Linked DNA regions of Homo sapiens: region 1 is linked to region 2. The links are contacts of gene promoters, found by promoter capture Hi-C in human tissues and cell types (Jung and others, 2019). All regions are on one chromosome and are shown on one strand. Each heading gives the region's core, a stretch centred on a gene start or on the middle of the fragment in contact. The rest is flanking DNA. Distances are from core to core; before and after follow the strand shown.

Region 1 (5,107 bases), core at 950-3,449, 1.1 Mb after region 2:
GCTCAGGGCAACCTCTGCCTCCCAGGTTCAAGTGATACCCCTGCCGCAGCCTACCAAGTAGCTGGGACTACAGGTACGTGCCACCATGCCAGGCTAGTTTTTTGTGTGTTTTAGTAGAGACAGTGTTTCGCCATTTTGGCCAGGATGGTCTTAATTTCCTGACCTCGTGATCCGCCCACCTCGACCTCCCAAAGTGCTGGTATTATAGGCGTGAGCCACCGCGCCCGTCCTCTATTTTCTTTTATTTGTACATTTGCTCGTATTATTATCTCTGCCTATAAGCCTATAATTTCCTTCTTCCACAAGTTCTCAAAGCAACTATATTCATAACTTAATCTCTCTTTTTTTGTTAAGAGACAGGGTCAGCCAGGCGCGGTGGCTTACACCTGTAATCCCAACACTTTTTAAGGCCAAGGTAGCTGAAGTCAGGAGTTTGAGAGCAGCCTGGCCAACATGGTGAAAACCCTGTCTCGACTAAAAATACAAAAATTAGCTGGGTGTGGTGGCAGATGCCTGTAATCCCAGCTACTCAAGAGGCTGAGGCAGGAGAATCGCTTGAACCCAGGAGGTGGAGGTTGCAGTGAGCCGAGATCACACCACTGCACTCCAGCCTGGGCAATAGAGTGAAACACCATCTCAAAAAAAAAAAAAGACAGGGTCTCACTCTGTCATCTAGGCTGGAGTGCAGTGGTGTGATCATAGCTCACTACAGCTTCGAACTCCTGGCCTTAAGTGATCTTCCTGCCTTGGCCTCCCAAAGTGCTGGGGTTATGGGCAGGAGCTACCACACTGGGCCCTTGAGTCCCTGTAATAATAGTATAGTATGTTCAGCATTTGTTACTCAAGCTGACAAGAAAACATACAGTTCATTCCAGAAAGATTCTCATCCAGATAAATTGAAAGCCCCAGGGCTTTAAAGGTTAATCTTTAGCTCTCTGTAGTAAATACTGGGACTTTTTTTTTTTTTTTTGAGTCTCCCTCTTGTCGCCCAGGCTGGAATGCAGTGGCATGATCTTAGCTCACTCAGATGAAAATTATGGACTATCTTCCCAGAAAAATGTACATGGCCATAGTTTTGAATACAATTTAAATATAATTCTAGGAAATTCATAAAGACTATTCATAAACCCCAAGTTAAGAACTCTGGAATTTAAAAATTCCTCAAAGGATACATAAGAAATTGATCATTGTGGTTGTCTGGGGAGGGAACAGGGAGGCAGGGGTTGTAGGGTAAGAGGGAAGTATACTTTGCATCATATACCTTTTTGTGCTAATAAACTTTTTACCAAGTACATAGTTTGTACCTGGTACCAGGTTATGTACCAGGTACATAAATACTTAAAAACAAATTAGTTGACATTTAAGGTAAGATGTGAGCCATAGCTTAACATAAAGAAAAGGAGAAAGCCCACTTGTTCTACTAAATTACCTACTCTACTTTTTCTGAAATTCTTTTATTAAGAAACAAACATTTTCATTTCAAAAGACAAGATCATCAAATACGTAAATATAACTTGAATCACTGCTATAAATGAATTTTGGCCTAAATAGAAACTGGTATCAGGTCCTTTCCTGTCTTCACAATGATTACAAAGCGGGCAAACACTGACCCTTAGAAGGGGGAATGCATAAGGATATGCAGAAATGAACAGAAAGGAGAAACTGGGAAGGCTCAAACACAATGTGCTTATTTCAAAACTGCTTGCAGTTTGCTTTCACTGATGGACACAAAAAATACAAAACACTGTTCAAAATGATGTTACATCCTAATAGATAATATATGTCAGTCGGGTGTGGTGGCTCACGCCTGTAATCCCAGAACTTTGGGAGGCCGAGGCAGGTGGATCACAAGGTCAGGAGTTCGAGACCAGCCTGGCCAATATGGTGAAACCTTATCTCTACTAAAAGTACAAAAATTAGCCAAGCATGGTGGCGGGTGCCTGTAGTCCCAGCTACCTGGGAGGCTGAGGTAGAAGAATCGCTTGAACTCGGGGGGCGGAGGTTGCAGTGAGCCAAGATCATGCCACTGCACTCCAGCCTGGGCGACAGAGCGAGACTTTGTCTCAAAAAAAAAAAAAAAGATAATATATGTCAAAACTTTACCAGGAACTATGATTACAACCAACTTTTGATAACTATATACTCTCTGAGAAAGAATGAAATGGAGTTGGATTTTTCGTTCTCACTTAATTGAAGAAAGTAAAGCTTCTATAAAGTTAGGTGTTTCCTGGGTTATGAAGGACAAAAACAAAAGCTAATAATGGAGCCACATAACACATTCAAACTTACTTGCAAAATATGTGGTCACACTTTGTGGAGACAGGTTCCTTGATCAACTCCAGACTAGCAGGGTAGGGGGGGAGAAAAAGAAAATAAATGAGGCTCAATAATTTATTTAAAAATAAAGCTATTCTTAGTGAATAAGTTCAACTTTGAGCTGTTATGACTGAGTCAACATAAGGCCTCAAGTTCGTTCAATATTTATTAAATGTCTGCTGTGTCAGGAACTGAGAATACAGCAGAGAATACGATCCTTACCTTCAGTGAGCTTTCAGATATCAAAACAGAATTATATTGATCCCTTCAATACTCTATACTATCATCAGCATTTAAAAGATTAGTTGATAATAGTTCGTACGAATTCATTTCCAGTGATATATTTTTCTGCACTATCACTGTGGGTGCACATCTCATCTTTAAGCTCCATAAAGACAAAATTTTCTGCTTATATTTCTTTTGAATTCCTTCCTAGAACTTTTTTTTGTTTACTGTAAATGCCTTTTTAACTTAATATGGAAAATTTCAAGTATTTCAAAATTTCAAGTAAATAAAATAATAAAATGAACTATATGGACCATCACCCTGGTCCAACAACCATCAACTCATGGCCAAGCTGTTTCACCCATATCCACCCCTACCCCAGATTATTTTAATTATTATTACTTTTAAGATAAGGTCACACTCTGTCACCTAGGCTGGAGTGCAGTGGTGCAAACATACCTCACTGCAGCCTTGAACTCCTGGGCTCAAGCAATCCTCCCAGCACGGGGTTTACAGGCATGAGCCAACACACCCAAACCCAAGTGTCTTCTTTTTTTTGAGATGGGGTTTTGCTTTTGTAGCCCAGACTGGCATGCAATGGTGCGATCTCGGCTCACTGCAACCTCTGCCTCCCAAGTTCAAGTGATTCTCCTGCCTCAGCCTCCCAGGTAGTTGGAACTACAGGCGTGCGCCACCACGCCCGGCTGATTTTTCGTATTTTTAGTAGAGTTGGGGTTTCACCATGTTGGCCGGCTGGTCTTGAACTCCTGACCTCAGGTGATCCGCCTGCCTTGGCCTCCCAAAGTGCTGGGATTACAGGTGTGAGCCACCATGCCCAGCCCCAAGTGTCTTCTGATCTATAGGTGTCTCTTACTTTTTCTCCCTTGTCATTTATTTTTAAAATTAGGTCATTTGACCTGTGGAGTTTCCCCCATTCTGGATTTTGCTGATTGTATAACCCTATGGTGAGGTTTAACTTGTTCCTCTAGCCTTATTTCCTATAAACTAGACTTACAGGCTTAATCATTCAGGTTCAACTTTCTGGCAAGAACACTTTACAGATGGTACTGTGTACTCTTATTAGATCACTTCAGAAGAGGCATGATGTTTGGTTTGTGATTACTTTGTAAAAACAGTGTAATAAGTACTCACTAAAGGAAATTTAGAAAATGATAAGCTTAAGGCCGGGCATGGTGCCTCATGCCTGTAATCCTAGCACTTTGGGAGGCTGAGGTGGGTGGATCACCTGAGCTCAGGAGTTCCAGATCATCCTGGACAATATGGTGAAACCCTGTCTACGCTAAAAATACAAAAATTAGCCGGGCGTGGTGGCGCATGCCTGTGGTCTCAGCTACTTTGGAGACTAAGGTAGAAGGATCACTTGAATCCTGGAGGTGGAGGTTGCAGAGTGAGCCAATATCGTGCCACTGCACTCCAGCCTAGGTGACAGAGGAAGACTCTGTCTCAAAAAAAAGAAAATAAGGCCAGACACGGGGGCTCATGCTTGTAATCCCAGCACTTGGGAGGCCGAGGCGGGCGGATCATGAGGTCAGGATTTCGAGACCAGCCTGGCCAACACAGTGAAACGCTGTCTCTACTAAAAATACCAAAACTAACTGGGCATGGTGGCATGCGCCTGTAATCCCAGCTACTTGGGAGGCTAAGGCAGGAGAATCGCTTGAACCGGGGAAGTGCACGTTGCAGTGAGCCAAGATCGCGCCACTGTACTCCAACCTGGGCGACAGAGCTGGACTCCATCTCAAAATAATAATAAGCTTAAAAATAAAAACTTCAGAAAATACATCACCCAAGTTCCCATCCCTACCTGTCTATCCACAAAACCAAGGCATTCCTGAGATTAGTTCATTTATTATACTAATATAACAAGTGTTTATTAAGTATCTACTACTATATTCAAGTACTATTCTAGGAGATAGAAATGTAGCAGTTTACAAAATAAAGCCTGCTCTCATAGAGCTCATATTCTAGTGTGGTAGACAGTTGATACGGAATTAAAGAATACATGGGAATAAGTGCATTAAAGAGAAAAATTAAGCAGGGTAAGGGGAAACAGGTAGTTCAATATCTATGTGGGGGTGAGATGTACATGGGGGGAGTCAGGAAAGGTTTCACTGAGGTGAGACTAGAGGATAGCTTAATAATGTAAAGAAACACACTATGCAACAATTAGGGGAAGAGCATTCCAAGAAAGAGGGAGCAGAGAAGGCAAACCCTGAGCAGGACCATGCCTGTGTATGCAGGACATCAGATAGGTCAAGGTGCTAAAATGTAATAATCCAGGAGGATATTGTAGGGAAAGACTATCAGAGAGGTAGCTGGTAACTTCTGGTAGGAACCTATAGGCTATTTTAAATCTTTAGCTTTATTCTGGTCTTTTTAATTTTCTTTTTTTTTTTCAGACAGAGTCTCGTTCTGTCGCCCAGGCTGGAGTGCAGTGGCACCATCTCGGCTCTCTGTAACCTCCGCCTCCTGAATTCAAGTGATTCTCCTGCCTCAGCCTCCCGAGTAGCTGGGACTAAAGGCATGCACCACCATGCCTTGGCCT
Region 2 (5,099 bases), core at 2,056-4,555:
TTCCTTTTTTTCTCTGTCATCTTTGACTTCTGGGATAACCGGGGGCAACCAGGTCAATTATGGAGACACACAATCACTTCGAACCCAGACTAGTGATCGCTGGGGTATAATTACAAGGGAAAACGGGGTGAGGAGAGCAAAGGTTTTGGAGACGGAAAGTGCAGACAGGCAACAATGCACAGAAGTTAACAAGAGAACGCGGGGGTCGGGGGCGATGTAAGGAAGTCGTCATCGACGCCGCGCCGCTTCCCCCACCTCGCACCAGACCTCTGAAATTGCCCTCGGAGACTCGGCCTCTCCTATAAGGACGATCGTCCTCTCAGCTGGAGAACAAGGCCATGCCTCAGCTCCTACGCCAGGCGGAAGCGGGAGAGGAAGGCCGACCCCCAAGAGCGCCCCTTCAGGGGGTCCATCCGGCCTTGATCTCAGATGGGGGGGTGTTTGCGGAGGGCGGGGCATCGCCTCAACAGCTGGGGGCTGCATCATGGCAGGAACGAGTTTCCCTGAGCCACGGAGCTGCAGGTCGCCTCCTCTACTACCCTGCTACCCGGTTACCTCTTCGCCTCTTGGTCGTCGAGCAGCTCCGGCTCGGTCGCCGCCATTACCACATCGCACTCCGCGGCAGCCGCCATCTTACCGCCGGGACCAGAGAGCTGGGTGGGAGGCCGGCGGTGAAGAGCACTTCCGGTTGGAGCATAGAGCAGCTCCGCGGCGCCGCGCCCAGAAGGGCTCCCTCGGGCTCGTCTACCAGAGAGAGGCTCCGCTTGGGGCCAGAGCGGCCTCCCGCCCCCGGATGTCCACGGTGGTCTCCGCGCCGGGGCGGGAGCCCAGGGGCTGTGCCGGTGCGTAGGCGGCGCCACTTTACCCGTGGGTGGGAAGGCGGGGTGTACCGGTGGTAGCCTCTCTAGGGCTTGGCTGCTTTCAGTATTCCAAGAGCCTCATTGCCATAGCAACTTCCAATCCTAGAGAGTCTTCCTGAAAGGCTCCGTGGAGTCTGGGTTGCGTGGGGACCAGGTGACCCAAGACTCTGTAGGGAAGGAGTCCCCACTGCTACCTTTCCGACCTTGGAGTGTGTCCACAGCTTCTTCCCGGGAAAGTCAAGAGACACTTTGAGCTCAGTTCCCCCAGCTTTCATCGTTCTCTGGAAGCCCTGCCCAGTCAAGCCAGGGGAACGCAGGGCGTCTTCACCCTGCGCCTTTCATCCACTCCGGATCTCCAAACACCAACTGGTTCATCACCCTAATGACGCTGACCCTTTTACAAGGCTCCTTTCATGTCAGCCGCCTGGGAGTGCCATCTCAGCATTAAGCCTAGGAAAGCTGACACATGGCGCCCCAGACCCTGCCCTGGAGTTTATAAGGAAGCTCGCGGGGTGAGGTCCTTGCTCTTGTGTCCCCAGTACTCCCACCTCTTATATAAACTCTCTACTCATCACGCTTGCCTTGCCGAATGCGGTCTGGATTGAGAATTCATAGGGGACAAGGGCACAGTTTAACTGTCTTTGTTGTTATTCCCTCACCCAAACGACTATTTGTGGAGCTGAATTAAATTGGAGCTTTCTGGGGTTAAATTGGAGGAGTATGAGGAGTAGCTTTACAATGTAAAGCTAAGAGTAAAATAAGAAGAGGGCAAAGGAATTTTAAAAGGATTTACCTGTTTGTTCCAGGAAAACAGCATGTGCCAATGCTCATACTCTGCCTATCCCAGTGTGGAGGGAGCTGAAACCACAGCGACCACTGAGTAGGGAGGGATAGGACAAGCTCACTAGGTTGGAAAGGAGGGGTCATTCGTTGAGCCAATCACTCAGCCCTTTCCAAAACGCCTACTCTGTGCTAGGTTGTGAGGGCACAAGACTTACAGACCACCTGCCCTGCCTGCCAGTGGCTCATAGTCCAGTCTAATGCTAGCCAACCTGTCTCACCATCTTCCCACTTTATGTTCTATCTAAGGCAACTCATTTATTCCCACAGCTTTACTTCCATCTGTTGATGACTCTCAACTTTTCATATCTCCAACCTAGACCTTTCTTCAGCTTCCACAGCTGTATATCCAACTATCTACTGGATATCTCTTGTATGTTTCACAAATCCCCAAGGCTTACCATATTTAAATTTAACTTTTTCATTGTCTACCCACACCTCAACAACAGAAAAAACAAATGTTGGATGTAATTATTATCTTTCCTAAATTCCGTATCTTGTTAAATGGATTAAACCATTCTCACTCTTGGCTTCCAATTTGTTGCCAAGTTTTGTTGATTCTCCTACCAAATATTTCCCAAATCTATCTCCACCTTTCCATCCCGATTCAGGCGCTCATCATTTTTTAAAATCTTGGAATAGGCTGGGTGTGGTGGCATGCATCTGTAGTCCCAGCTATTTGGGAGGCTGAGGCAGGAGGATCACTTGAGCCCAGGAGTTAGAGGCTGCAGTGAGCTATGATCACACCAATGTACTCCAGCATGGAGAAAAGAGCAAGACCCTGTCTCAAAAACGGCAACAACAACAACAACAAAACAACAGAAAAAAAAACTTGGAATACATCAATAGTCTCCTAATCGGTCTCTAATTTCATCTCTGTTCAGTCTTCCCTCTTCTGCCAGAGTGACCTTCCTCAGGGACTGATCATGTCTCTTCATTGGCAATGGCTTTCCATTGCCGTCAATTTGATCTCTTTGGCCTACCACACAAAGCCTTTGATTATCTGTTTCTTTTTTTAAATAATTTAATTTGAGTACCAATATTTAGGTCCTTTCTACCACCAATATTGAACCCAAGTTCTCATAGTTTCAGAAAATGCCATGACTTGTAGCCGTTTCCTCCACCCTAGAACACCCTTTCCCCCAGGCCCTTCAGTGTCTGCTGACTCAACGTTAAATGCCCTTTTGCTGTGCTCCACAGCACCTCAGTAGTTGTTAGACATCTAGCTTCTCTAGACCGTGAGTTCTGATGGGCAGCCACCATGTCTAACTCGTCCACTTTCTCTCAGTATATGGCCCTGCACCAGGCACAGACAGATGATGCTCAGAAAACATTTGACGAATAAATGATTGAGTAAACGAAGAGTTACTGTACTCTGATCGCCTTTACAGAGAGAACATCTGGGCCTCAGAGACACCAGAACACCCAGCGGCCCGCGTCCAGGGAGTCTAGAACCTTGGGCTCCCGCGCACACCCAGGCCAGGTCCTGGCCGTCATTCTCCCGCCGGCCTCTGGGGGAGCTGCGCGGTCCGCGCTCTCTCTCCGCTGCCGGAATTCGTCTTGCCTGACGGAAGCTGGGGAGCGGGCAGGCGGCGGGGGCGGGGCCTGGAGGAGCCTACACCGACTCTGGAGGAAGACTGGAGCCTTTGCGGCGGCGCTGCCCCTCCCCTGGTCCCCGCGAGCTCGGAGGGCCCGGCTGGTGCTGCGGGGGCCCCGGGAGGTACGGACCTGGGAGGCGAGGCTCGTCCGGCGCTAGGATCGGCCTCCGCCTCCGGGCCGCTTTAGGTGGCTGGTCTCTGCCTCTCATTCCCTCTGGGGGCTCCCCCGTGAGAAAATCTGTGGCGGAGGCACCTCTGGCCCACTCTTATGGTGTCCTTTATTGTGGGGCTCGCTATATGGAGAGGGGGTCTGTGTCAGGAGCTTCCCCTGGAGAGGTTTCTGTTAGGGACCGTCTTTGGGAGTGATCTATCTCTGCTCTCTGGGGGGGATCTTTGTCTGGAGCTTTTGGGGGGCTTGTGTTTGGAAGTTTGCCTTCGGGGAGATATCTGTCTGGGACCTCTTAGGGTTTCTGTATCTGAGCTTTCTCTTTTGTGTCTGTCAGTCCAAGGGCAGCAAAAAGTATGTCCTTTCTGAAGCCTTTTTTTCCGTAGGTTTCTTCATTCTTTTCTCTCTTGTCTTATGTTCATTTTAGCCATAGACTTGACTGGAGTTTAGAGGGAATTGATTGTTGTCCAGATGAGTCGTACAGGAAAGCAGATTGTCTTTTTTTGAGACGGAGTCTTGCTCTGCCGCCCAGGCTGGAGTGCAGTGGCATATTCTTGGCTCACTGCAATCTCCGCCTCCTGGATTCAAGCGATTCTCCTGCCTCAGCCTCTCAAGTAGCTGGGATTACAGGCACCCGCCACCACGCCTGACTAATTTTTTGTATGTTTAGTAGAGATGAGGTTTCACTATGTTGGCCAGTCTGGTCTCGAACTCCTGACTTTGTGATCTGCCCACCTCGGCCTCCCGAAGTGCTGAGATTACAGGCGTGAGCCACCGTGCCCTGCCCCAGATTATCCTTTTTATTTGCTCAGTCCCCCCAGGGAGCAGATGGCTTCAGACAGCCACACAAAACACTGTTCCTGCTTAATTCTCCATGGGGTCATGGTTAAAGAGAGGAAGCTGGGCTGAGCTCCCTTTACTAATTGGTCCTCTACATCTTGCGCACAGAAGGGAACCTGGCCCAGTGGCCAGTGACTCTCCTCTCCCTTTATGGCAGCATTTCCAAGCACCTGCCCTGTGACAGATACTGGCTAGGTACTGGGGATAACAAAGACGAATAAAATAACAGCTTACCATCCAGTAGTAGACATGGAGACATCCGTTTCCTCTGACTAGCATTGGGATGGTGCTGAAACCCTGGAACTATACATTCAGTTTAGAACTATACATTCAGTTTAGAACTCTCAGTTATGGACGTTCTGCCTTCTGTTTTTTTGGTTTTTGTTTTTGTCCACCAGAAAACATCTGCTAGTAACTGCCTTCTGTGTTGATGCTTTCTTTCCTCACCTTACCCAGCGTGCTTCTGTTCTTCAAGGTTGAAAACTAAGCATGGGGAAGAGCTGCAAGGTGGTCGTGTGTGGCCAGGCGTCTGTGGGCAAAACTTCAATCCTGGAGCAGCTTCTGTATGGGAACCATGTAGTGGGTGAGTGTTGTTGGAGGGGGAGGAACAGTGGAAGAAGTTGAAAAATAAGGAATAGGACTTGATCACAACACACACAGGCTAAAAGCTGCTCCTGGTGGTTTTCCCCCCTGGAAGAATAAAACTTACATTGTAACAGATCAACTCTACAACACTGAACAAATACGGAGGGAGAAAGCCCTATGTCCAAGATAGGAAAGAGAAGCTGTCATGTC

The links. Contacts are between HindIII fragments. The study calls those that stand out against the background at their distance.
Region 1: a fragment that was not itself captured here is called in contact with the fragment with the promoter of NKIRAS2 in region 2 in 1 of the 25 tissues and cell types used here (dorsolateral prefrontal cortex).

What each region holds. Positions count from the first base shown.
Region 1 is chr17:43,113,437-43,118,543 of GRCh38, forward strand. It overlaps BRCA1 (BRCA1 DNA repair associated), which reads right to left. Exons shown (of 23, transcript NM_007294.4): 3 at 2,290-2,343. Among named protein-coding and RNA genes, the nearest start is that of BRCA1, 9.4 kb to the right of the region's middle. The HindIII fragment of the contact is 5,789 bases long and covers 1-5,094 here.
Region 2 is chr17:42,016,785-42,021,883 of GRCh38, forward strand. It overlaps NKIRAS2 (NFKB inhibitor interacting Ras like 2), which reads left to right and starts at 3,306. Exons shown (of 4, transcript NM_017595.6): 1 at 3,306-3,420; 2 at 4,780-4,887. The coding sequence starts at 4,794. It overlaps DNAJC7 (DnaJ heat shock protein family (Hsp40) member C7), which reads right to left and starts at 655. Exons shown (of 14, transcript NM_003315.4): 1 at 556-655. The coding sequence starts at 632. RefSeq lists enhancers at 1-1,063, 174-223, 294-703 and silencers at 814-963, 3,190-3,599. The HindIII fragment of the contact is 10,906 bases long and covers 1-5,099 here.